5 separate regions of the Homo sapiens genome follow, and regions 2, 3, 4 and 5 are each linked to region 1. Evidence: promoter capture Hi-C in 16 types of primary human blood cells and fetal thymus (Javierre and others, 2016). All regions are on one chromosome and are shown on one strand. The core of a region is centred on a gene start or on the middle of the fragment in contact, and the rest is flanking DNA. Distances in the headings are between cores, read along the strand shown. Region 1 holds the start of SPAG16 (sperm associated antigen 16). Region 2 overlaps SMARCAL1 (SNF2 related chromatin remodeling annealing helicase 1). Region 3 overlaps SMARCAL1-AS1 (SMARCAL1 antisense RNA 1). Region 4 holds the start of KANSL1L (KAT8 regulatory NSL complex subunit 1 like). Region 5 overlaps MARCHF4 (membrane associated ring-CH-type finger 4).

What was found. Contacts are between HindIII fragments. The CHiCAGO score rates a contact against its expected background, and 5 or more counts as called.
Region 2: a fragment that was not itself captured here is called in contact with the fragment with the promoter of SPAG16 in region 1 in 2 of 17 cell types (naive CD8 T cells and naive CD4 T cells); the score reaches 7.2 in naive CD8 T cells.
Region 3: a contact is called between a fragment that was not itself captured here and the fragment with the promoter of SPAG16 in region 1, in 6 of 17 cell types (non-activated CD4 T cells, naive CD8 T cells, total CD4 T cells and 3 more). The highest score is 17.2, in non-activated CD4 T cells.
Region 4: a contact is called between the fragment with the promoter of KANSL1L here and the fragment with the promoter of SPAG16 in region 1, in 4 of 17 cell types (fetal thymus, total CD4 T cells, activated CD4 T cells and 1 more). The highest score is 9.4, in fetal thymus.
Region 5: a contact is called between a fragment that was not itself captured here and the fragment with the promoter of SPAG16 in region 1, in 1 of 17 cell types (non-activated CD4 T cells). The highest score is 5.1, in non-activated CD4 T cells.

Annotation. Positions count from the first base shown.
Region 1 is chr2:213,281,123-213,286,456 of GRCh38, forward strand. It overlaps SPAG16 (sperm associated antigen 16), which reads left to right and starts at 3,342. Exons shown (of 16, transcript NM_024532.5): 1 at 3,342-3,497. The coding sequence starts at 3,362. It overlaps SPAG16-DT (SPAG16 divergent transcript), which reads right to left and starts at 3,087. Exons shown (of 3, transcript NR_161186.1): 1 at 2,911-3,087. RefSeq lists enhancers at 3,375-3,504, 3,545-3,594, 3,665-3,744. The HindIII fragment of the contact is 3,357 bases long and covers 1,405-4,761 here.
Region 2 is chr2:216,477,162-216,482,495 of GRCh38, forward strand. SMARCAL1 (SNF2 related chromatin remodeling annealing helicase 1) reads left to right here. Exons shown (of 18, transcript NM_014140.4): 16 at 1-48; 17 at 1,042-1,138. Among named protein-coding and RNA genes, the nearest start is that of RPL37A-DT, 19 kb to the right of the region's middle. The HindIII fragment of the contact is 1,336 bases long and covers 583-1,918 here.
Region 3 is chr2:216,402,680-216,408,013 of GRCh38, forward strand. All of the region lies in intron 1 of SMARCAL1-AS1 (SMARCAL1 antisense RNA 1), which reads right to left. Among named protein-coding and RNA genes, the nearest start is that of SMARCAL1, 7.1 kb to the right of the region's middle. The HindIII fragment of the contact is 2,376 bases long and covers 961-3,336 here.
Region 4 is chr2:210,168,323-210,173,656 of GRCh38, forward strand. It overlaps KANSL1L (KAT8 regulatory NSL complex subunit 1 like), which reads right to left and starts at 3,087. Exons shown (of 15, transcript NM_152519.4): 1 at 2,827-3,087. RefSeq lists enhancers at 2,112-2,746, 2,174-2,353, 2,747-3,382, 3,383-4,016 and silencers at 2,544-2,853, 2,974-3,303. The HindIII fragment of the contact is 7,802 bases long and covers 1-4,885 here.
Region 5 is chr2:216,365,317-216,370,650 of GRCh38, forward strand. It overlaps MARCHF4 (membrane associated ring-CH-type finger 4), which reads right to left. Exons shown (of 4, transcript NM_020814.3): 1 at 4,429-5,334. The coding sequence starts at 4,944. Among named protein-coding and RNA genes, the nearest start is that of MARCHF4, 4.5 kb to the right of the region's middle. The HindIII fragment of the contact is 1,519 bases long and covers 2,431-3,949 here.

The DNA.
Region 1 (5,334 bases), core at 2,092-4,591:
AAGATATTAGCAGTCCTCCTAAAAGGTTGCATCAAGTTTTTACTTGAAGGCAATTATTGGTTCTGTTTATATTTGTTAAAATTATTTTTTGCTTTTATTTCATTGCTTTTCAAACCATCGTAGAGACCAAAAGGTTTACAAAAGAAAATGTTAACATAGCTTTAATTGGAATTTTTAAAACCACTTCTGCTTAGGTCCCTGTGAAATGTGTTTCAAATTGTAGTTGAACCACAAATATCTTGGGTGACTTCCAATTTTGAAATCCATGAAATGGATATAATCAAAATAGTAACTCTGAATTAAAATTTTGGCTACTTGAAAACTTCACAGAATTAGACTTACAGGTTTTTATTTGTTTGAGGAGTGTAGTTAATGATACTTATTTCAGTCATAAGTCTTCTGTTTTTGAACTCTTTGGAGAAGAATTTTTTCCCATTTCTCCTCTACATTAAGCAGTGGATATTGGTCACAATTTATTCATTTTATATGACTCTATTAAACTGTTTCCCTTTTTTGAGTGCTGCATATTTCGTTCTTTTTCTTTCTTTCTTTCTTTTTTTTTTTTGAGATGGAGTCTTGCTCTGTTGTCCAGGCTGGAGTGCAGTGGCGTGATCTCAGCTCACTGCAACCTCTGCCTCCCGGGTTGCAGTGATTCTCCTGCCTCAGCCTCCTGAGTAGCTGGGACTACAGGCATGTGCCACCACACCCGGCTAATTTTTTGTATTTTTCGTAGAGATGGGGTTTCACTATGTTATCAAGGATGGTCTCGATCTCCTGACCTTGTGATCCGTCTGCCTTGGCCTCCTAAAGTGCTGGGATTACAGGCGTGAGCCACCGTGCCTGGCTGAGTGCTGCATATTTCTAAAAATATTTAACTTTTATCTTAAGTTGTTTCTATATGTTTAAGTTTCTTCCAAATATAATATCTAATTTAAGCTTGCATATTCATTCAATATTTTAAGCACATTTTATTAACGATTATTTACTGAAAACATTTGATATACCAGACATGGTTATAAGTGCTTTCTACATATTTCGTTTAGTCTTCATACTTTAGTAAGGTAGGTACTAAAATCTCCGGTTTACAGAACAGGAAACTAAGGCTCAGAGAACTTAATTAAGGTCATACAGAAGAGGCAGGAGACAAACATCTGTAGAAGATCACACACTACATCTAAAAAGTCAGAAATAGATGAGCCATTGTAACGAACAAAAACAAATAAAAGTAAACAGTAATCGCTCTGAGAGACCATCCTTCATGTCTTTTGTGTTCCTACATGTCTTGCTGGATATGCCAAAAATGTAAGGCCTTGACCACTCCTTACCCAGGTCATTTGTTAAGGCTGGATTTATAGGAAACAACCTTGAGAGATAAGGTAATGCCTTCTTCTGAAATAAAGAGAAAGCTTTCTGTAAAAGCAGTGGATTCTCCAATGTCAGAATTCTTCTGTATTTTCAGCCTCCTGTAATTGTTCCTTGCATTTAATGAGTACTCAGGAAATGTCTGATGTGAGAAGTCAAGGACAAAGAGTAGGGTAGTAAAAGAATAGGTACCAGGAATGAATTACCCGACTATTATATCTGTGACCCTTGATTATTCTAAAAAATAAAACAATATCAAACACATTTAATAGAAATAACAGCTAACATTTCTTAGTGTCTTCTATGTTCCCAGTAAGTTCTTAATGCTTTTTGTTGCTTTACCCCTTGCAACAGCACTTTGAGGTAGGTAATATTGTTGTCTTTGTTCTACAAATGATGAAACTGGGGCCTAGAGGCATTAAGTAGTAGTTTGCCCAATGTGTCATAGCTAGTAAGTGATGGAAGCAGGCTCTGAAAGCTGTCTCTCTGGCTCTGACACACGTACTCTCAAACACCTCCTTAGGAAGTTACTGCTACCTTTTGGTAATAAATGGGAGCTTTTATAGGATCACTGGCTTCCAGTTTTCACCAAGAAATGTAGAATGAAAAATAATACCATTTGCCCTAGCAATCCCATTACTGGGTATATACCCAAAGAAACAGAAATTGTTCTACCATAAAAACACATGTACATGCGTGTTCATTGATATTCATGATAAAGACATGGATTCAACCTAAATGCCCATCAACGGACTGGATAAAGAAAATGTGGTACACATATACCATGGAATACTATGCAGCCACAGAAGAATGAGATCATGTCCTCTCAGGGACATGAATGCAGCTGGAGGCCATTATCCTTAGCAAACTAATGCAGGAACAGAAAACCAAATACTGCATGTTCTTAGTTGTAAGTGGGAGCTAAATAATGAGAACAAATGGACACAAAGAAGGAACAACAGACACTGGGGCCTACTTGAGGAGGAGAGTGGGAGGAGGGAGAAGATCAGAAAAAATAACTATTGGGTACTACACTTAGTACCTGGGTGACGAAATAAGTTATATACCAAACCCCTGCGACATGAGCTTACCTGCACTTGTACCCCTGAACCTAAAATAAAAGTTAAGGGAAAAAAAAATATTTGCAAAGAAAAGGGCCTTGAATTTGCTTCTGATACATACGCGATATAACCTGAGGAAGATCCTCTCAGCAATAAGACTATACATGATGGGGCAAGTGTCAACTGCATACATTTGTCAGGACCAAATTTGTAGCTCATAATTTTTATGCAACTGTTTTTACCTTGGCGAGAATCAATGCTACAAATACTATTCCAAGTCTTAGTATATGGAACCAAACTCAAAACAGATGTCCAGCTAAATGCATTAAAGATCACAAGAAAGGAATTGACAAAGCTGAACACCATAGTTCTTCATTGCTAAGCATCTGAGGAGCGTCTGGTAGCTCCCCTGGGTCAGTCTTTCTATTATGATTTCTAGAACTTTATTTTTTCATTTTTTAAAAAATTCCAGGTGTTGAGAACTCACCTTTTCTAGTAGTTTTCCCTGGGAACACTTGGGGATCTACAAACATCTGAAATTGGAGGATGCTAATGGGCAAGAATCAAGAGAAAGGTAATTCAGAGACGACAACGAAGTGGGAAAGAAATTACAGGGTCAAAGCGAAAGAAAACCAAGCTGCTTGGGTAGGAAGGTGCAATGCAAGCCAATTGTTTACTGTATCTTGTCCGCTCCCAGAGCTGCGCCCGAGCTCTCGCGTTAACTAGGCAACATCGTTGCCACGGTAACTGGGAGGCGCGGGAGGGCGACAGCTCCCTGGACTCCCGGTAACCCTTACGTGCCCGGGGCTGGTCCGTGGGGCGGGGTGAGAGATGCCGGAATCTCGCGAGAGCTCCCGGGGGCCGTTGGGTAGCGTCTTCGCTGTTGCCCTTAGGGACGGCTGTGGGCCTGCTGGGGGTGGGGGCCCGAAGCGCCAGAGATGGCTGCTCAGCGAGGGATGCCCAGCTCCGCCGTGAGGGTCCTGGAAGAGGCGTTGGGCATGGGTTTGACGGCAGCCGGGGACGCGAGGGACACGGCGGACGCGGTGGCGGCTGAGGGCGCCTACTACCTGGAACGTATCCTTCCCGTGGAGGCGCGGCCCGCTGCGCTGGCGGGTAATGGGTGTTGGGACGAAGGCGAGGGCCTCCCACTGGCGGCGCCTTTTGAGCCTTGGGGCCACTCCGGAGGAGCCTCTGTTGGACTTCAAGGTGCTGTTTTTGCCACCACAGTCTTCCTGAGAGCCACTCACTGAATTTCTCGCCCTTAGTAGCCCAGGGTGTCCTGTACCTGTTAGAAGAGTTGGGAGACCTTCCAAGGCCTCATACTTAGTAACCACTCAGTACATTTTGGATGGAGGGTTGCTTTTTATGTTAAGACAGCACAACAAATTGCTTCAACCCTCCTTTCAAATAATGGGTTTCCTAAATAAGCCCTCAATCTTTCAGAAAGCCGTCCCAATAAATTCAACGGAGGAACGTTAGGAGACTAGGGAAAGACCTCTGCCATTGGACTTTAAGGAGCTGAAGCTCAGAATACCCAACCCACGATCCTGTTCGATGGTCCAGTTAATGCTTAAATGCTTAGTTTTGATAGCATTATCTTCCTGAGTAGTTCCAAGTTTGACTACTTAATAATAAATACTAATAGTATAGTTGCTTTTTTTTCTTGAGCAAATAAATAATGATCTGGTGAGCTACACAGCTCAGAGATATTAGGAATAAAGCAGATGGTGATTAGCGATTTTTATCGGAAGTACCAGAAAAATTGAATAACAATGTGTGGATAATTAGGTCCACTATTTCTTGTGTAAGGCTTTAGAACTTCTTTCCTCTAGTTATATAGATTAATTCCTACTAGGGAGACGGGGAGGGTTCATGAGAAAAAGACATGTAACTCCTTTATTCAGGGAGGTAAGAAAGAGATGATTATCTGTTCAGTTCTTAAAGATACCAAGGAAACTCCAAAATCTGCCAAATCTTATTTGTTTGTCCAACTGTAATCCTCTCCAGGTTTAATTCAAGATTTCAGAAATCCAGCAATGATTCATTTCGTGAGCTTTGACAAGCCGATTAACCTGTCCTGACTCAGGCTCAGTACACATCCACACTACAGAGAGCTTTGAAGAATTTAGCTGAAAGATTAAAGAAAATATGTAGTATTTTATTGGGTGCAAAAACGACTTTTACAGGAATAGAAATTTGAATCGCTTGAAATGAATTTGAAAGAAATATATGGGTGCTTTAGTGTCATAAATGAGGTTTTATACTGTTTTCGTAGATGTAACAGGCAGTCTTTTCCAGTGATATTCCTCTTTAACAACGATTTTCATAATTCTTCCTAAGCTTATCTATATCCAGTGCCCTTGCTACTGAATGGTAACCAGGCATCTTGTAATTTTGTTTGCATTAAAATTATTTCCGTGAACACATAGTTTAATTGTTAACATGAGATTGACACAATGAGGTAACTTTTTGCAAACATCTTTGTGAAATAAATGGTAGGAGTCTAACATAACACAACTTTCAGCAATGAAAATCAGGTTTACTTAATGTGCAGGGAGATCACTGAGTCACACCTGCCAAGATGTAGCAGTTTGCAAACCTGTCTTACAAAGACTTTTTCAAATAATCACACTTATTTGAACTTTAACACATATAAGCAACTGTAACTTTTTAGGATTTTACTAACCGTTGTGTGAATTATCCAACCCATTTGCTTTTCTTCTTTCTTTGGTTGACTGACTGCTATTTTGTATTTTAACCAAATGGTAGTCAGGGGATACACAGTTAAACATTTAACCAGTTTATTTTGCTATATTCCATGCTGAGGGAAGAGGTTTAGTCATTTCAACTCTCAGTTGAAATGAAGTTTGAGGATTACTTGTGAATACCAATTATTCCTGTATCCCTGGGC
Region 2 (5,334 bases), core at 1-2,500, 3.2 Mb after region 1:
GGGCATTCACTACCTCGTGGCAAAGGGCACAGCTGATGACTACCTTTGGTATGGCTTGGTTGGGTGGCCTGGCAGTTGGAGTCGAGCAAGGGTGGAAACTGATGATATGTTTACTTTGCTCCCAAAGTGCTTCTGCTTTTGCTAAGTAAGGTCTTTAAGGATCTATAGAAAATTGACTAGTGATGCCCTCCTGCTTTCATCATGACCATATTTGGCCTCCCTCACTAGCGTTCACTGGTGGCTTGCAGGGTGCATGCTGAATCTTATAGCAATAAGGGGTTGTGGCTCCTTTTGCTGCTGGTCTGAGGCAGGGAGAAGTGCTGATTATGACAAAATATAGATGGAATTTAGTTTGTAAAACACCCTGTTCCCAGCTGTGAAGGCATTTGTTAGGACAGGGTGACAGTCTTTTACCTTTTATGATGTGCATTTATCTGGTGGGCACATCTTACATTGCTGCTGCTGGACCACAGGGAGAAAGTGGCTTACCCTGGACTGTGTAGTGTACTTCGTTAGCAGAGCTGGAGTAAGATTTTCAACCCTAGGGTTTTCTGTCTGTTACCTAAGTGAAAAATCTCAAAAAGCTTCTTCCCCTTATCTCCCCCTTCCTGATACAAAATTTCTTGATTATCTCATTTGTTTCCACTGCTTGTCTCTGTTTCCAGCCTTATGACTAAGGAGTCTTCCCTTTGCAATGTGTGTGGGTCACTCCTACTTCCCCCTTTTTAGTGGATTTGTTAATTGGGCAGCTCATAATACCACCAGATTCAAAATTGTGTTGAAATGAGGCAGCATTTATTTCCTACACATCTTCCATTAGAAAGAATATTGAACCTGATGATATTCTTAGCCCTAAATTGGAGTTTTTACAAATGAGAGGGGGCAAATTTTTCAAGATGGGTGTTTGCACCTTGAGAGATGCAGAGATGTGAAACCGTAAACAAGCCGTTGTCCCATAAGAACAAGGAGGGTGGCCTCATTTTCATTAGTCTGGTGGTTCTGTGCAGGTTGTATTCACTGCAGCTCATTTCTCCCCAACAGGCCCCTGATTCAAGAGAAGATTAAAGTTCTGGCAGAAGCCGGGCTTTCTGAGACCAATTTTTCAGAAATGACAGAATCCACTGATTACCTCTACAAGGTAATGCCAGCACATGGCTCTTCACCCCTGGAGCAGAGGGAGGCATTAAGCTGTCTGCCAAGTCTTTGGGTCCTGAGTAGGAGGATGTGAATCACTCCTAGGGACCTCCCCCAGCCTAGAGCTGAAAACAATGGCCTGCAGTCATTCTCAGTTGAACCATGCATGCATCGCTTTATGGGGAAATGATGGCATTAGCTCCTACAGCTGCTGACATTCCCGCACAGGCTCTGAATGCTGCCTCTTCCAGCAGGCCATTAGAAACTGACAAAACTCCCCATGGCAAATGTTGAATTGTTTCAAAAAGTACACAGCAACACCACACATAGGGCTGCCACAGGAATGCATCCCCAGCACAGAATGGGGAGTGTTTAAAATAGGGTACTGGCTTCATAGAATATATTTTCCCTTCTGTCATTTTATTTATTCTCAGTGTCTCCCCACTTGATAGAGGGGTAAACTGAGACATGGCAGTATAGTAGGTTTGCACAAAGTCACAGGGCATGTGAAGCCAGCCCAAGGAAGAAGGCTTCCTGACTTGGCCCAGCATTCCTCCTTTGAGCTCAGCCCTTGTTGTAAAGGAGTATAAGAGGCATCCCTCCATGACCAGGCAGGCCTTGTCAAAGGTGCTGAGGGGGAAGGCTGTTGCCTCTGAACAGGACAGCCCTGGGCCCATCATGCCTGCCTGGTTTCAGTGCTGCAGCCCAGTGGCTGCCACAGACTCTTCCTCCCCCATTTCAGTGAAACACAGTGGAGTGAGCAAGAGACCCAGAGCCTTCCAAAAGCTTGTTTTCCTTCCCCAGCTTGGATTGTTGGCCAGAAGGTGAAAACCAGGAGTATGCCCTCCTCGAGCACAGCTCATGGTTGAATTGTTTCTGCCAGGAGAGTTTGAACCAGGTCTGAGCCTCATGCAGAAAGGGGCCTTACGGTAGCTTATCAGGAAAGTGAAGCACCTCCTCCTTCCTGTGAAATCACCATCAGAATATTGAGTTAGGCCACACATGGTGGTGCACACCTGTAGTCCCAGCTACTCCAGAGGAAAAGGTGAGGATCACTTGAGCCTAGGAGGTCAAGGCTGTAGTTAGCCATGATGGTCACTGTACTCTAAACTGGGCAACAGAGCAAGAGCCTGCCTCAAAAAAAAAAAAAGAGAAAGAAAAAAGTTTAAATAAATAAGAAGTTGAGTTAAATCTTATCGTTGACACCAAGACTTAAGACTCTGTGGATCTGCTCATTCACTTACATTTATTTAGCAAATAAATTCTTTCTTTGCAAGGATTTATTTGCTAAATATTGGGATAAATAAGACTCAGATCATATTTTTAAATGCAGACTGCAAATTATCCTTTCAGACATATATAGTTAATAAGCCAATTTTAAAACAACCTTATTTTTAAGCTTTTTAAAGAACTCTCCAGTTCAGCTGAATGGTAAATGGTAACAGAGCCTAGGTTATTACAAGCCTTTTGAAAAGAAATAGTCTGAGCAGGCATAGTGGCTCAAGCCTCTAATCCCACACTGAGGCGGACAGATGACTTGAGCCCAGGAGTTTGAGACCAGCCTGGGCAACATGGTGAAACCCCCATCTCTACAAAAAATACAAAAATTAGCCAGGCATGATGGCACATGCCTGTATTCCCAGCTACTCAGGAGACTGAGGCAGGAGGATTCCCTGAACCTGGGAGGCAGAGGTTGCAGTGGGCCAAGATCACACCACTGCATTTCAGCCTAGGCAACAGAGACAGACCTTGTCTCAAAAAAGAAAAAAAAGAAAGCCTATTTTTAAAGGATTCTCACTTGAACTCATTTATTCCTCCTTGCCTTTCTCTTACTCTAAATTGGTTAAGCATTTCTACCTAAAATATAAGTACAAGGTAATATAAATGAGTTTTATCAATATTTTGATCAATAACTATATCAATTTATTTTTTAATTAAGATGGGGCTGAAAATTTTATCAACTACTAGAAAAAGAAAATGTTGCTTCCAATATAGGAGACAAAAGCAGAAGAGGTTATATCTCACTGAGATAGCCTTCCTTCTGAGAGGGGAAATGAAATATTAATCTGATCTTGGAACTCGCTTCCAATTAATTATGCATGCCCCGAGTCAGCATACAGTGTTGCCATCATCATAATCAAATGCACATTAGCAGCTTTTTCTACTTGGAATAGGCTGCCTTGCAGGGTGGCGTTTCCTTGACATTGCAGTCATTCAGAAAGAGGCTGATGAGGGCATCCTGGAGGAGGACATGTGGGTTATTTGGGGGTCAGCCTTGATGATCTTTCATATCATTTCCCTCTCTGCAAGGCTGGGATCCTGAAAGGCTAGGAGATTTCGGGTGCAGGTTAATTGAATAATCTGGAGTTCTTACATGACAGGCTGTCATGATCAATTTTCAAGGAACTCTACTTCACCAATGTGGAGGGATTTGGTTAAGGAATAGTGAGGAACAGTGGCCAGGTACGTTGAGACCTAATTCTATAAAGGCCTGAAAAGCCAGGGGAGCAACTGTAGACTTGATGAGGTAGGGACAGCGGAGCCCAAAGACATGACCAAAAAAATCTTTAAAGGAGAGCCTGGGGGTAAAAATCAGCTGGCAAAGATCTGTAGGCTGTTTGAAATGGGAAGAAGCCTGAGGCAGGAAGCGCAGTTGAGCTGTTGCAAATCCATGCAGTACCAAGTGATGTGGCCCAAGTAAAGATGGTGCCTGAAGGAGAGAGGAGGGAACTAATGGGGGGAACAAACTTGCATAAGCCGAGGACTCTGTTTGCCTGGATGATTTCCACCTGGGAGACTACGAGAATGCAGGTAGACTATAAAAACTAGACTTATGGGAAGAGAAGCTGCTTTGAGAATATAGGAGATGAGAGATCATTTGATTTTTTATATTTATTTATTTATTTATTTATTTAGAGACAGGGTCTCACTCTGTCACCCAGGCTGGAGTACAGTGGCACTATGCTGGCTCACTGCAACCTCCGCCTCCCAGGCTCAAGTGATTCCCCCCATCTCAGCCTCCCGAGTAGCTGGAACTACAGGCGCATGCTGCCAACACCCGGCCAATTTTCTGTATTTTTGATAGAGATGGGGTTTTGCCATGTTGCCCAGGCTGGTCTCTAATTCCTGAGCTTAGATGATCCCCCCGCCTCGGCCTCCCAAAGTGCTGGGATTACAGGCGTGAGCCCTTGCAGCAGCCTTATTTTTATGTATTTATTTTTTTTTTGAGACAGAGTCTCACTCTGTCACCCAGGCTGGAGTGCAGTGGCGTGATGATGGCTCACTGCAACCTCTGCCTTGTGGGTTCAAGCGATTCTTGTGCCTCAGCCTCCCAAATAGCTGGGACTACAGGCACGCACCACCATGTCTGGCTAATTTTTTGTATTTTTAGTAGAGATGGGGTTTCACCACGTTGGCCAGGCTGGTCTCGAACTCCTGACCTCAGGCGATCCATCCGCCTCGGCCTCCTAAAGTGCTGGGATTACAGGTGAGAGCCACTGAGCCCAGCCAAAAGATCATTTGATTTTAAACCAGTTTAGTTTTATGAAACTGTGGGATGTCAGTGGAGATATGGAAAATATACCTCTAAATTGAAAAATGGTCAAAGTTGGAAATTTAGATGTAGGAAAAATCGGCAGAGGGGTGATAGTGATCGTGTGTTGTGGTTGTATCCACTGGGCATGGTTTTAACACTACACCATTGTCATCAATGTATAGATGCAGTTGGTGGGTATTTTGATTATTTGTAATTTAAGGTAATCAGAATAGGTACACATATCTACTTATGAATATGTTAAATGTGTGTATGTTTTTTCAACTACTTTGAAAATTAGGTATAAGCCATGGCTGAACACAGAGATTTGGAAGTTGGGGGGCTGGGCACATGGTGGCTCACACCTGTAATCCCAACATTTTGGGTAGCTGAGGTGGGCAGATCATTTGAGCTCAGGAGTTCGAGACCAGCCTGGGCAACATTTAGTGAGATCCCATCTCTTAAAAAATTATAAAAATAAAAATAAATTTAAAAATAGAGATTTAGAAGTTGAATTATACCTTAACTGACCCTTAGTAGAGAAAGGCTTTGGAGGAAGTGAGATCTTGGGTGCTATTTCAGTATTGAAATAATGATTTGGAAAGTTCAAAGGGAGAAAACATTTCCAATGTAAATTATAGCGTGAGAGCAGCTTCTTTGTTGCACTC
Region 3 (5,334 bases), core at 899-3,398, 3.1 Mb after region 1:
CGTACAAGAGAAAATTAAGGTAAAAACTCAAATAATATTGCACTGATTGTTAAAAGGGAGCTAATTTCCTGGAAACCAGTGCTGAGGACCAAGGATGTGAGCAGACGGGATGCTAATGCTCTTTCCCAAATGGCTCTGATGGCCCGTGGTTTTCTATTATTGCATCTAGGAGTAGCAGGTCCCTTACTGTAAAGTATCTAGAAATCAGTCAGGCTCTTAACCACTCAATTAGGGTAATTTATCCTTGCGATGAATGGGACCGTTCCTTCTCCCTGATTTAGTCTGGGCTGTGCCTCCATCGAATGCAGATATAAATAGGTCTGTTTGGGGCAGAAAGCCAGCCTTGTATCCTCCCCACCCTGAGGTCTGAACCCGCAGCTTGTAGCCTGGCTCTGTGCAAGGGGCTGATTGTAAGTCCTCCAAGTCAACAGGAACACAAAATAGCTAGCAGCCCCTCCATTTATCTTTCCCCCATGGACAGAACAAATTTGCAGAGAATTTGGACAGAATTTGCAGATAATTTGGAGCAAACATTAAAAAGAATAATCTGACAATAAGAAATGTGAAATGCTGGAGAAAGGGAAGGAAGGAATTGCCTTTTGCCCAGATCCACAGGAATCCCACACTTTGGATGGTTATTTTGGTGCCATCTTAGTTACAGTAGAGACAGGATGCAGGCCTCAAAGCCTTCCTTTCCCCTACTCAGGAAATTCCTTAAGAACTGATTGGCCTTTTGTTTGTGTGTGTGCTATTTTATTTCAGTCAGGGGTAGACCCCTCTTTCTTTTTCTATTGAAGACCACTCAGCTAGAAAAGAGGAAGGCAATTGGTGGCCATATAAGAAAACATCAAATCAGCGTGAGGAAAGGCTAGAGGAGGGAAATATGAAATGTTTCACTTGTACCCTTTGAGAACTGAAAACCAGGAGCAATTTAACACATACGGCAAACTGGGCGAAATAAGCTTTAGCTCCATGCTATGGGCAGCTGGATGTGGGGTTAGAGGAGCACAGAAAAAAAAAAAAAGAGAGAGAGAGAGAGAAAGAGAAAGATAAAAAGTAAATAGATATAATTTACTATAATAAAATGAAAAAGAATGACACAAAGAGACAAAGCATACACATGTAGAATTAAGGAGTAGGCCAGGTGCGGTGGCTCATGCCTATAATCCTAGCACTTTCAGCGGCCGAGGCGGGTGGATCACCTGAGGTCAGGAGTTTGAGACCAGCCTGGCCAACATGGTGGAACCCTGTCTCTACTAAAAATACAAAAATTAGCCGGGCGTGGTGGCGAGTGCCTGTAATCCCAGCTACTTGGGAGGCTGAGGCAGGAGAATCGTTTGAACCCAGGAGGCAGAGGTTGCAGTGAGCCGAGATTGTACCACTGGACTCCAGCCTGGGCGACAGAGAGAGACTCCCTCTCAAAAAAATAAATAAATAAAAAAAATTAAGGAGTACAGAGGGGCAGGTGAGACAGAGGGACAGAGGGACACAGGCAGCCTATCTATTCGCCCCCTTGTGGTCCTCAGGGACATTGCAGACAGCCAATTCTAATCCAACCTTAACATTTAACATCTGTAGACAAAAATGCACTTTGAACACTTAGGCAATTTCCAGTGTGGTGGATACAATTATATATATTAAGAGTAGACTACTGATCAAAGGCTTATGGTGCTCCACTTGCTGGAGCTACAGAGTGGCCTGCTGGATGAGTAGAAGAAACTAGGATGCCTGAGATCAAGTTTGGGCTCCAGCGTTCTCTATATCCTTGCACAAGCTACTTGGCTTCCCTTTGCCTTCATTCTCCCTTAATAATCATGAAAGAACATAATTTTTCCAATCTATGTCTCTGTAAAGAAGCTACCTCATATGCAGGAAGAAATGGTCCATAAGAAAGCTCAGCCCAATGTGATGGCTCACACCTGAAATCTCAGCAATTTGAGAGGCCAAGGCAGGAGGATCACTTGAGCTCAGGAGTTCAAGACCAGCCTGGGCAACATAGTGAGACCCCATCTCTACAAAAAATAATTTTAAAAGTTAGTCGGGCTTGGTGGCGTGTGCCTGTAATTTCAGATACTCAACAGGCTGACGTGAGAGGATCCCTTGAGCTGAGAAGTTCAAGGTTGCAGTGAGCTACGATCATGTCACTGCATTCCAGCCTGGGGTGATAGAGCAAGACCGTGTCTCAAAAAAATAAAAAAGAAAAAGAAAGTTTAGTGTATGACCTTGAATTTCTTTTTCTTTTCTTTTCTTTCTTTTTTTTGGGGGGGTTGGGGGGAATCTCACTCTGTCACCCAGGCTGGAGTGCAGTGGCACGATCTCGGCTCACTGCAACCTCTACTTCCCAAGTTCAAGCGATCTTCCTGCCTCCGCCTCCTGAGTAGCTGGGATTACAGGCATGCGCCACCACACCCAGTTAATTTTATTTGTATTTTTAGTAGAGATAGGGTTTCACCATGTTGGCCAGGCTGGTCTCAAACTCCTGACCTCAAGTGATCTGCCCGCCTCACCTCCTAAAGTGCTGGGATTACAGGCGTGAGCCACCACGTCTAGCCGAACTTGAATTTCTAAGCCAACTTCATGTCTATTGTGGCCAACAGGGGGTGAGCAGTAGAGCCCTGCACGTGCATGTGCATCACTTTATGTGCCACATCACTTTATGTGCATGTGCTAGACTCAGACATTCAGGCTTTGTGAGATAGAGAGATGGTGCTGGAGCTACCTCCAAATAGCTTTCTGACCTGTCCATCCAGTTCCATCACCATCATCTCTTCCCTAGACTCCTGCAACGGCTTCCTAAGAGGTCCTCCTATCCCCACTCTGCCCTTCTGTGGGGCTTTCTGCACACAACAGCAAGTAGCTTCCTGAGACACACAAGTTACTCCACTCTGGTTTGCATCTCATTAGGGGCCTCCTGCTGCTCTCAGAACAAATTCCCAATGTCTTTGCGTGGTACTGAAGAACCTGGACGTTATCTGTCCTATTTCTCTCCCCAGCCCCATCTTGTGTCCTTTTCATCCTCTCGCACCTCCTCCAGCCAAGCCGGCCTCACTTCCACTTCTCAAACATGCCCAGCTCAGCTCTTCCTTGCCTGGGCTCGATGTTGCTTGCCCCTACAGCTCATTCAGAACCCGCTTCCCTCTGAGCTCCGCATGGCTGCCTCCTCTCCTCCTTCAGGTCTCCCCTGGGGACACCTTTCCTGACCACTCTGAAATAGTTCCCTCTTAAGTGTCCTCTTGGGCTCTCTGTTTAGGTCCCTCACAGCACTTATCATTTAGCTGATTTGTTTCTTTTTGTTTCTTTTGTGTGGGGGGGATCTGCCTCCCTAACTAAACTGTAAGCTTTATTTAAAAAGGGTGACATCAGTAATGCAGCCCTGGTGCTTCTGCACACCGTGCAGCCCATAGTAGGTCCTTGAATTTTTGTTAAGTGAATATAAGAATCAATGGATGAAGGCCGGGCGTGGTGGCTCACACGTGTAATCCCTTTGGGGGATCACTTTGGGAGGCTGAGCGGGTAGATTGCTTAAGGCCAGGAGTTCGAGACAAGCCTGGGCAATATGGCAAAAGCCTGTCTCTACTAAAAATACAAAAAGTAGCCGGGCATACTGGTGCACAACTGTAGTCCTAGCTACTTGGGAGGCTGAGGTGGGAGGATCATATGAGCCAGGGAGGTAGAGTTTGCAGTGAGACAAGGTTGCACCACTGCACTCCAAACTGAGTGACAGACTCAGACCCTGTCTAAAAAGAAAAGAAAAGAAAAGAAAAAGAATGAATGGTTGAAAAAAGAATGAATGGATGAATATGAACAAAGTGGAATTTGCAATATTGAAGAAACAGAAAAAAGTAAAATTTCCTAAGTCTAAAAACACTGGAGCAGGGTGTCTAGGTGGGTGCTTTTAGCAAAGGACAGACAAAGCCATCCCAGCAGAAAATGTGCCAGGTTTGAGAGAGAGGCTTGTGAACTAATCACAGCCACCAAGACCAGTTAGAGAAATTAAGACACTAGGAGAACCCTCATACCAAGCCATGGAATGCGTGGTGTAAAGAAATTACACGAAGATTCTGTCTTCATAAGACATTTAGAGTCGAGGGAGAAGGAGGGCTAGAGGAAGGCAGACAAGAGGAGGAAGAAAAACGGAACTGTCAGACTCCAAGCAATTAAGTCCATCAGAACGGAACAACCGTTAAGGAAGGTGAATTTCTTGGCTTATAAACCTTTACATTACTCCTCTGTGCTTTGGATATGCAAATGTCTTTGCCAACTGGCAGCATCTGAGAGGGAATAGCTTCCTTTTCCACCCAAAGCATTGCATCTGCTCCTGAATCTCATCACAGCACTCTAGGTGTAATTAACCTGAGCGATGACATGCCCTAGGGGTGGCTGTCAAAAAAGCTCTCCCCAAAGGGCTGTCAAGTGCTCTCTAGGGAATCCTTGCTGAGGGAAGAGGGAAGCCCTGTACTTACATCACTATCAGGTAAGCTCCACAGAGAGGGACTTGAAACTACTTTAGGTGCCCAGACATACACTGTCAGGCAAGGGCAAGCATGCAATCACTATCTGTATATTTAATTAGCATCTAGAAAGAGCCCTACTAGGGGACTGAGGTGCCTCATTCCAGCCTGGCCTGTGCCAGGTCTATGACATCAGGCATAGCTAACTTCTCTATGCTTCCATTTCTTTAGTTCTAAAGAGAGATTAATGCTCTCTAAGGTCCTTTCTAAATCTCACTTTATGGGTTAAGGAAAGAAAATGAGACAGATTCTCTTGAAATGTATTCGTAGCGCTGCTATTAAACTTTGAGGACCCTAGAGTACACAAGGTGGATAATTAAGAGTTATAGACTGGAAAGAATATGTCTTAGATGCAACTCTTGTCCTCAAGGGACCATAAATCCAAGATAACCTAGAGATGATGTTGTGGAATCCTAAGGGACTTTGGTTGAACCTGAGAATGACAAATTCACATAATTTGGATCCTTTTGTAAATGTTGCCTTTTGCACCTGTATTTTACAGTAAATTTTCAGCTTATTGAGAGTTCAGCATATTTCAGGGGAGGATGAAAAGAAGGAAGGAAAATGGAGGGAGGGATGATAAAACTCCTTTGACTTGAGAGTTAGAAGTCAGGGTTCTTGGCCAGGCACAGTGGCTCACTCCTGTAATCCTAGCAGTTTGGGAGGCTGAGGCAGGTGGATAACTTGAGCCCAGGAGTTCAAGACCAGCCTGTCCAACATGGTGACACCCCATCTCTACTAAAAATACAAAATTTAGCTGGGCATGGTGGTTTGCATCTAGAATCCCAGCTACTCAGGAGGCTGAGGCAGGAGAATTGCTTGA
Region 4 (5,334 bases), core at 1,837-4,336, 3.1 Mb before region 1:
GACAAAATAAGGGTATGGAGAGATTATCTGAATACATGAAAAACATCATGAAAACAAGGATTACATATTATTTATAAGATTTATGTGGTAGATTAAAGGGCATAAAGGATCCTATAGGCAATAAGAAGTGAGCTACCAAGAACCATCTCAATAATAAAGGAACTTCAGATAGCAGGCATCATTTTTTGTCAAACACAGTAAAAGCTACAAGTGAAACTACATTGATCAGTGAAACCTTTACGTTAATTTCATAGAAGACAGATGAATGAGTAAAGGAAATGAAATAATCTAAGGTATCATGATAAATGGCATCAAAATTGGATGAAGTTCTTGGATAATGCAGCAGTTGGGCTATGAGAAGTTAATTGACCTTCTGGTAGACAACTGTGATCAGATCACTGAGGCCTCACCTGAATGAAAAAGTAGTAAAAGTTATGAATCCAACAATAATAGTATATTACTAACAATGTACTAGTAAACTGAGTAAAACAAAAAGCAAAAGACAATTTCCTGATCTTCCATAGATAAAAAAGATAAATATTAGCCCACTGGCAAGTATTTATTGAGCACCCACTAAGTGATCTGCAGCATGTCAAACATGAAATATATTTCTTTCTCTCAAGCACTTTACAATAAGTTAAAAAATAAAAGATACATCACAGATTAGAGTGAAAAAATTTAAAATGCAAATTAAAGCAAGGTTTTTAGTTTTAAAGCCTAATACTAGGTGATAAACAAAGACATAATGGGAGGCACACACATACCACTAGATCACTGTAAATCAATACAACATTCTGTAATTTGGTGATGACATAAGAGCCTTAAAAAACACACACACAAACAAACAACAAAAACAGACTCTTTGGCCCAGTAATTCCTCTTCTACAAATCTAAGGGGGGGAAATTTCAAAGGTTTATGTAAAAGGATATTGTCTGTAGTGAAATATACACTAGCAAAACCAGAAACATCCCACATACGTGCCAACAGAAAAAATTTAAAATATGATAGTTACATGGCGAAATGTTAAGCAGCTATTAAAAATATTTTTCAAAGAATAATGATATGCGAATGTCTGAGTTAAATGAAAATACCATGTGGTCTCAGTTTTAGGAAAAATACACATATATGCAGACAGAAATATTTAAAGTACAAAATATTTATAGTTTTCTTATTTGCACTCATCTATTTTCCAATTACTTTATAATAATAAGATTTAACAAAATAATCGATTGTTATTTGCAAAGGCGCATCATGAAACAAAATTAAAATGTAAATGTTAAAAGTCAATGTGAGAGAATTGGCCTGGATTAAGAAGTTTCACATAAAAAATTACTCCAGACAGTTTGCGGGAGAGAATAATCTATGTAGATTAAAACCATGAGGAAATGGTTGCAGACGCTGACACTGATCTAAGTAGGTGGAAACTGAGGGAGAACCAAAGATAATGGTTACAACAGATTTTAAAGATACTCAAATATATTCTATTTCATGATTAATTCATTGTTTATATTTCCCCAACATGTGGGCTTTTAAAAAATTCACTTTTGTTATAAAAATAACACTACTTGGCAATTGGTAGAGATTAGGAATCACTTTTCCTAATACAAGGCATTTCTTCTTTCTTACAATCTCTTAAGACAGAGACCATATTATGAAACTTTACAAAAACGAAACAAGTTTGACATCAGAGAGGTGACTAACCCAAAGAAATGGCTAGTTATTAAGAACGGGAAAGGCAGAGACCACTCACTGTTAAGCCTCTTTCTCAATACTGAATTATTTTTAGAGTCATTTTTTCCTAGTCAGAAATTGCCAGTTTTGTCTGCAGTGCTCACTTCACTTAGGTTTTGTGGCTAACAAACCTGCCCCATCCAGCAATATTTAAAATTATTACTGACCCAAACTCAGATGAAGTTAAGCAAACTGGCTAAAGACGAAGGAAGTTTGTCTCCTAAACCTCGCCAGAACATGAATGTCCTGAAGTTTGGGGAATCAAAAACGGAATGTGCTTACCACAGTTCAAACAAAAAAACAAACAAAAACGGACTCTCCCAGAGTAAGAAAACATTACAAGAACGTCCATCCAGTGCCTGCCCTCCCGACTGCAAAGCCAGCCTCTTTCCTTTCCTGTGGTTTCTGAAACGGCCAGGATACCGCCTGGTATTTCTTGCTACCAAACACCACGCAATCTGACTTTTTCCAGCAAGACCGGTCCCTTCCTCAGCACACCGGTGACACAAACTTGGAAGCACCGTCCCTCAAAAATCCCCTAGATTCTGCTCTATCCCATCTAACTCTAAAGCCCAAATCTACGTTTTCCTGAAAGAAAGTGTGAAATAAATAAAATAGGGGTCTCATCAAATCCAGTGGGCTCCGCCTCAGAGCCGCCTCAAAAGAGCCGTCACCACACCCCCAATGGGTGAGGCTCAGCCGATGAGGCAAGAGGCGGGTCCAGGAAACCACGTGTTCTGCCTTCTGCGCACGCGCCAGCCAAAACAAAAGGGAGGTCTGCCAAGCCCCACCCCCCACGTGACCGGCGTCCAGGTCCGCCCCCACCCCTCCCTAGACCCCTTCCCTCCCCAGCTGCCAAGGCTGTTAGGTTTAGCCGTTTAAATTTGGCTGCGGTCAGACCCCCGCCCTAGAGCGCGATCCCGTGCCGAGACCAGAGTCCAGCAGCCCAGAGGATTCGGGGGGCGAAGGGGCTGCCGGTCGGTCGCCTGACCCGCAAGTCCACCCGGCAGTCTTCTCCCCTCCCCGCGCTGCCGCCGTCCCCAAGAGGGAAGACCCACCCCCGTCATCCCGCCGCTGAGACGCCGGCCACTCGCCTGCTGGGGCGCCCTGGCTCCCCTCCGCCGCCGCACCTTCGGTCCGGCCGTGGTGGGGGCTGCTGAGGTGATCTCTAGCTGCCCGCCCGCCTCCCCCACCCGGGGCGCCGCTGACTCGTCTCCAGAGCGCGCCCCGCTCCCGCCCCGGCCGCCGCCGCCGCCGCCGCCGCCGCCGCCGCCGCCGCCGCCGCCGCGGTTTAACAGTCCGCCCGCTGCCCGCAGCTCCGTGCGGCTCGGGGGGACGGAACCCTGCCGCGGTCTGGGAGCAGTGGGCGGGGCCCGGCGCTAGCCAATGGCAACGGGGGAGGGGCAGCGCCATGCAAATGAAGCGGGTGGCGGGGAAACCCCGGCAGGGGGCGGGGCCTGCAGAAGCGGCTCGGAGTGTTCTGGAAGTGGCAGGAGCACGACTCCCTTAACTCTGGTGCAGGGTTTACCTCGGCTCCCTCGGGACGGGTTCCGTGCAGCTCCTGCTTCCTCCCTTCTCTTTCCCAGTGCCATCCCTGGCGAGGGGGAAAAAAAAAAACACGGCCAGGAGACTTCCCACCCCTGCTTTGCTATTTTTGTACCTCCGTGACAGAAAAACAAAACCCTGAGGAAAAGTCAGGCGACTTCATTCCCTGCCGTCCGCGCCGGGGCCTCGACTACTGCTGGCGTCCGCGGCTTTCGCCCGCCGCTCCACAGGCGAGTTTTAAGAGATTTCTCACAATTGTCAAGTCCGCAAGTCTCCGTGCGTTTGCTTTTATTTGGGCCGTGCGTTCAAATGCGCTCATAATTCTTTCTGACCCTCAGAGGGGCCCTGAAGTAGGTGACAAATTTGCCTTGGATCCAACTGGGTGGTTTTATGATTAAAAAAAAAAAAACAGACAAAGCAGTTTTAAGTCTCTACAAATCTGGTTTGAGTGGCGCTGGACCTAACTCCCCTCTGCAGTAACGCTGTCAAATAAACAAACGGAGTTTATGTGGAGATAGTTGGCCAGCGACACCCAAAAACACTTCTGAGCGTCTTGCACCTGGCCCCGCGAACCGCTCACCACAAAACAAACCTGCACCTGGGCACTTCCCCAGCCAAGAACTCGATTTTTTTAAAACTGAACTCTAAATGTAGCTTCTTAGATGTTGTATCACAGTCTTTCCTAAGCACCGAATTTACACATGAAATGATTTAAGGAACGAAGAGCACTAGGCTTTTTAAGCCAGAAGGATAATAGCCATTATTTTAACCTTATCAATTGGATAAGATCCCGGGGGCGGAAGAGGGGAGAAATCCAAGGAATTGCAGTCATAACAAAGCGTAATCCGTAACATAGATAACTGGAATTGGAAAATTAGCTACTCGTTCCTGGTTCTTCTAGTAGATTGTGATATTACTGAAATAATTTTTATGACCAGCTGCATTTATTGGAGCTATATTTTTTTAATTACTGAATAATTGCACCTCGATATGGGGCAAGGGAAGAATTTTAGGAAATTGATTTACTTTCATTGTAATAAAAATTGTAAGCTAATGATGTGTTGTGAAAAATAATTAAATCAGTAAGTATTTATTGGATATTTACCATATTCAAAGGACTGTCCTAGTCCCTGGGGACAGAAATGCAAAAATGAATAAAGTATTTTTTAAAGTTTTGTTTTTTTAATTAGCAGTTTGAGACATCTAATAAGCATGTGTTAAGATAGATCAAAGGAAGATTCTGGATTTGAGTTGGACGTTTAAAAGACTTAAGAGAGAGGAGGAAGGCATCAATAGTTCAGGAGATAGTGTCCTTGGGTGGTTTGAGGAGATGTTGTGTGAATATTTGGGGGGCAGAAAAGTACATTGTCAACTAGATTGAGTAAATCTTGAATGACAGGAATTCAGATTTTAACCTGAAGGAACTGTAGAGACATCAAATCATTTAATGGTAGTTTTCTCCTGTGAAATAATTTTTTGCTACCAAACAAAATATTTATATATTTGCCAAATGTTTATTGAACACATGTTTTGTGATGGCTAATGAAGATATATTAGTAAACAAATTCCCTGTCCTCATGGAGTTTATAGAGGATGACAAAGGGATTAAGCTTTGTAACTACACAAATAGTGATTCATACAGCATTTCTACATATATTATGTAATTTGTTCATCACATAGCCGTGGGAGGTAGGCTGTTTCCAATACTCTAGATTAATTTTTTTTTTTTTTTTGAGACGGAGTCTCACACTGTCTCCCAGGCTGGAGTGCAGTGGTGCGATCTCGCCTCACTGCAAGCTCCGCCTCCCGGGTTCATGCCATTCTCCTGCCTCAGCCTCCCGAGTAGCTGGGACTACAGGCGCCCGCCACCAAGACCGGCTAATTTTTTTTTTTTTTTTTTGTATTTTTAGTAGAGACGGAGTTTCACTATGTTAGCCAGGATGGTCTAGATCTCCTGACCTGGTGATCTGCCCGCCTCGGCCTCCCAAAATGCTGGGATTACAGGCGTGAGCCACAACACCCGGCCGCTCCAGATTAATTCTTTTATCTTCTAGTCA
Region 5 (5,334 bases), core at 1,940-4,439, 3.1 Mb after region 1:
ATTAAGCCTGCTAAACTTTTCCAGATACACGTCCTACTTTCCATTAGGGCCAGAACAGGTGGCCTCCCACCCTAGCTTCTGACTGCCATGGTGGATTTCATCTTTGTACCCACTGCTAGGCACTCCACAGCTGCCTAGCTGGGAGGTGGATTCACCTCTTTTCAAGGTATCCATGTGTGGAGTGCCTGGAGGTTGCTCCACAAAGATAAAATCCACCATGGCAGTCAGGTGTGGGGGTGGGGGACACATCTCTTCTGCTTCCATCTGTCTAACCTCAGTCTTGCAGCCTAAATCTATTTCTTCTCACTTGGTCTTCAGAAGCAATAGAGAAGCCTTCTCTAACTAACTGTAGATAAAGTGGCAAATTCCCCGACTTGTCTTTTTGAGTAGGCACCCCGCCCACTAGCTGCTTTTAAACATGCATCTCCTTCTTGTACCTGATATTACTGTAATTCACTCAGCCTCACTGTCTGTGTGTTCTTGATCTCTATCAGCCCCTGTGATGTCTGGGTTAGATTGTGAGACTCCCAGAGGGCAGGACCACATCTACCCTATGTCTCTGGACCTTGTCCAGCAGAACAGCAGGCAAAAGGTAGGTGCTTAATAAAGACTTTGATGATGGAAACGGACAAGCTCTGCTCTGTGCCTAGAGCATTATAAATCTGCAAGAAACAGTCCACATCCATGCCACAATCATAGTGGCTTCCTGACAGCCTCTGGGCTGGGGCACACCTTTTCTTTTAAACAAGGCAGGAACAGCACTCTCTTGCATCTGAGATAGTAATAACAATAACAAAATGCTACGATGGCACTGCTCTTATAGTATTGACTGATTTGATGCTCAGAATAATCTTATGACATGGGGACTATTATTATTATTCCATCTTTACAAATGAGGAATCCAAGACACAGGCAGGCTATATAACTTGTTCAGGCCTCCAACTGGGTCCATCTGGCTTCAGAGAGTTCAGATTACTCACAATGGTACATTGTCCCACAAAGTGGGCTAGTGCAGCTTCAACCAAAAACGGAGAGTGAGGAGGTTGTGAGCTGGACTCTGGTTCTACAGTCTCATGGGCCCTGACCCCTGCTCAACATGAATGAATGGTGGAGAGGAGAGAGGCTACTCAGTAGCTTTCTAGGATGGAGCCAAGTAGGTTCTCAAAGCAAGTGTTCACATCTATCTCTCTCTCTCTCTCTTCCTTTCTTCTCTTCTGTTTTTCCAACATGCTAAGCTCGTTCACATTCACGCTTTTGAACTTGCTATTTCCTTCACCTGAAATTCTCTTCCCCTAGACCTATGCATTGCTGGGCCCTTCTCATCATTTAGGTGTCAGCTCAGATGACACATTCTTAGGAAGACTTTTCCTGATTACCCTATCTAATGTGGTGGTACCTTTCCCACTGCCTCCCTTTCATTCCTTTCTAACTCATTTTCCTTTTTAAATTTCATCACAGAGCTTAAATCACCTTATTTACTTACTAGTTTACTTGTCTATTTATGTGTCTCTACTAGAATGTCAGCTTCAGGAGAGCAGAAATCTCATCTATTTTGTTCACTCCTGAATACTCATGCCTGGAACAGCAACGGGCACACTGCAGGTGCCCCGAAAAATTTGTTAAATAAACGCATGCACCAATGAATGGATGCAAAGTCCTTTGTAGATAGGTACAAAGGTGAAACTAGCTGGATTCTCTTGCTGTTCCTCACCACAAATATTGCAAGCTGTTGGCAGGAAAAGATCAAATACTCATTTTTTGGCAGTCGTTTAGCCCCTATAGCAGTAGTAAATGATTGGGGTGATGGGGAGCAGGGAGGTGGGGGTCTGCTTAATTCCTTTGTTTGGGCAGAGATAACACCAAGACATTCAGCTACTAAGATTGCAGCCCACATTTCCTCCAGGGCCATGTGTAGACAATTGCTGGACAGCTCTCTCCCTGAACAGAAATTAAAACACAGAAATTTTAGCGTGTCTCTCTCTCTTTCTCTCTCCCCCTCCCTCCTCCTCCTCCTTCTCTCTCTATCCCTCTCTTTCTCCCTCCCCTTCACTGCTGTTGCCTCTCTATCTCTCTCTTCCTTTTCTAGAGTTTCCCTTATCTCCCCTCCTTTGTCTCCTTCATAGAAATGCTGTGAAAAAAAAAATGAGAAGAAACTGGGAAACTGTGTTCTCCACATCTAATGCAGTACTCACATTGCTGTTATTACTACTATAACACAATCCCATTAAAGCCTCTTGGCTCCTGCACAGATAAGGTAAACCCCCAAAACAAAATAATCATATGCAGGAAGTGCTTAATTTGATCCAGTCTTAATGCAGACAGGGCCCCCTAATCCTCCCACATAATAGAGCCCATTCCTTTACTGGTGTTAGCTTTTTTATTCAATGCTTTATTTATGACACCCCATCAAAATAATGAACAAGAAAGGAAAGCTTCTAACCTCTGACCAGATCTTGTATCACATGAGGGTATTTCACAATATTGCCAATGATTTTTTTCTTTTTCTTTTTTCAATAAAATACAGCTTTCTGTTATCAAAATACATGCTCATTATATATAAATTCCTTCCAAGATATTTTTACACTTCTTTTCTCCTGGATTCTCCCAACACACCTCTGAGGAAAGGAGGGGGGGGCATGAAAAGGTGTCTCCAAATCACGTAAGTTGGAAAAGCAGCCCAGAGGCATGAAGCTATTTGAAAAAGTTCACACAGTGGGGGAAATATTATCCCAGGGCACCTCCAAGTCCTGCTGTTTTCTAGAGACAAGAATGCTCTTGCCAGAAGCCACACTCTCAGAAGCCCCTGTGACATGCAGACCTGAGCCCATATGGGAGAAAAAAGAAATGCCTTAGGAATTTAGGAAGCCAAATAATTCTTTCTTTTGGAGAGTATGAAGTACTTGATGGTGGCAAGATCCTGATATCAAAGTGAGGCACCCTCTTGTTGTCAGCCGAGCCACTCTACCCCATAGCTCTGCCAGAGCCTGGTGCTGGAAGTAGAGAGAAAGAATGAAGGGAAGGCACTCTGGAGGATTTTTCCTAACAGGAGTTTTCAACTCTGGACAACACTTTATTGGATACTTAGGTAATCTTAAGATGGAAGAACCCAGCCCCCAGCCTCTCAGAGACATTTATTCACACTAAGATCTATATCACTTCCCCTCATAATTCCAAGCTGTAGCTCCAGGGATCACTGGTCCCCAGAGTTCTTTGTCCATTGAGAGCAAAGCAAGAAAATGAATGAAAATGCCAGCTAAGCCTGCATCTTACAGAGCACACCCTCAGCAAGAACCAGAGCCAGTCAAAGCCTGGCATGGCATCCTACTGCACTGCCACTTCCTCAAGGAGTATCCAGAAATCCTCCCTGCACTTCAGGAAACTATTGAAGAAGTGGCTGATAGGAACACATAACCTTGCCCACCTTGCAATTGAATACTCCTTCTCCAGCATCACTAACTGCGTGAGCCTTTCTATCTGTGATTCTTTGGAGAGTGTTGCCACATTCTATAGTTCCTGAAGAATGTACACATGCTATCCAGCATTGCTGATACTAGATTGTAGGTGAACTTGGGAGGGGTGTCTGTGAAAATCTGAATGAATAGGGTAGGGAAAACCTGCCAGACTTGGAAAAGCCCTGGTGCATATGAGAGTTGGCATCCCTATCCTGGATGGGGAGCATTTAAGGGATTTTCTAAGTCAACACACTTTTTAGGTCTGAAAAGGGAAATAGCAAGATACCTTATTGCCTACGTCAGTCTCTTAAACTCATTCTCATTCCCATTTACCTGCCTGTTTTCAACATAGAAAAATTTGAGTCTGCCAAGAAGTGTCTCAGCAAATCATATAGTCTTGGACCTAGAATCCCTCTCCATTTCCTCCTCAGTTGCTAGAACATAATGCTGAGGATGTCAACGTGATATGAAAGGAAGTTGTCCAAAGTAAAAGAACAAGCTTACTGGATTTCAACCTATGAGAAAAGGAAAAGAGAACAAGATCTCGGCATACTCTCAGAGCAGGAAGAAGTTGGGATATGGGACTGAAGATGGGCTAGACGAAATGTTACTAACAACAAGTTAGATAAAAGGATATCTTGGCAACCAGTGTGAATGTACCACCAAGTTTCTTCACTCCGTTGTTTCTAGATCTTCTATTCTGAGGATGTTTGTAAAATTTGGAGTTGGAATTGGAGACACTAGCATTGGAAGGAAAATGCAAAACCTAGAACACAAACGAACCACCAAACAGGCTCCACCAGGAACCAGACACTCATTGGGCAAACTTAACCACAAGAAACATCAATGAGGGCTCTTAAACATAGAGTCCTCATACTAAAGACAATATAACCGTTCCCCAGGGCAAGCAGGCGAGTAGCAATCTGCAAGACCTGAAAATACCACAGGAAGCAGGAGAAGAGAAAAGGGGACTCACCTGTTCTGGCCCCTGGAAGCAGATGCGGCAGAGTGGGGTCCTCATACCACTGTCCAAGCTGCTGCCCAGTGAGTAGCGATCCTCGGTCTTCTCCTTACAGAAGTCATCTGAGGAGGCACTGCTGAGCAGCGAGGCAGGTGGCTCTGTGGCTGGGCCACCCCAGTCATCTTCCACAGAAGAAGGTGGCAAGGGGGGTGGAGGTGGCACAGGAGGGGGCTCCCTGCCCACCACTTCTCGGGGGCCCCTCCAGCCTGCCCACCCCCCGGCGCCCAGAGCCGGAAGGGTGTTGTTGGCCGCCAAACCGGGGGGCTGGGGGTCGCCGTGCATGGGCAGGGGCGCTTGAGGAGGGCGCCGCAGTAAGAAAACCTTCAGGTCATTGAAGAGCATGCGGCAGCGGCACTTGAGGAGACCCTGGTGGCGCAACATCTGGGGGGCTGGGGCACACAATCCATAGCAGTACCAGCCGGAGCAGCAGCACCACCACCACCAGAGCAGCCCACACAGGGGCATCAGCATGTGCCCCGTGGAAGTAGAGAGCCCAAGAGGGGTGGCTGGAGTCTTAAAAGAGGGGGACAGGACAGGTTTTGGGGGTCCACAGTGGATCTGTGTTGTGGGGGGAGTCTGCTTTCTCACTGGCTTTTCTTACAACCCCTCCAAGTAGCAAATAAATTGCTCCCAGGACTGAGAAGTGTGAGTCACTGGTTCTGAACTCCACCTGGAAAGCCCAATAACAAAAAAGTTTTTCTTGCCCTCACACACCCACCCCAACCTCCAACTTTGTTCAGTGTGTCTCCTTTCTGCTTTTGACCTGAGGACACTGGTAGGAGCAGAGGGATTGAAGAAGCGTGGTGGAGGGGCCACTAGAGCCTCTGTCGAATTGTTTAAATCAATGTCGAATTGTTTAAA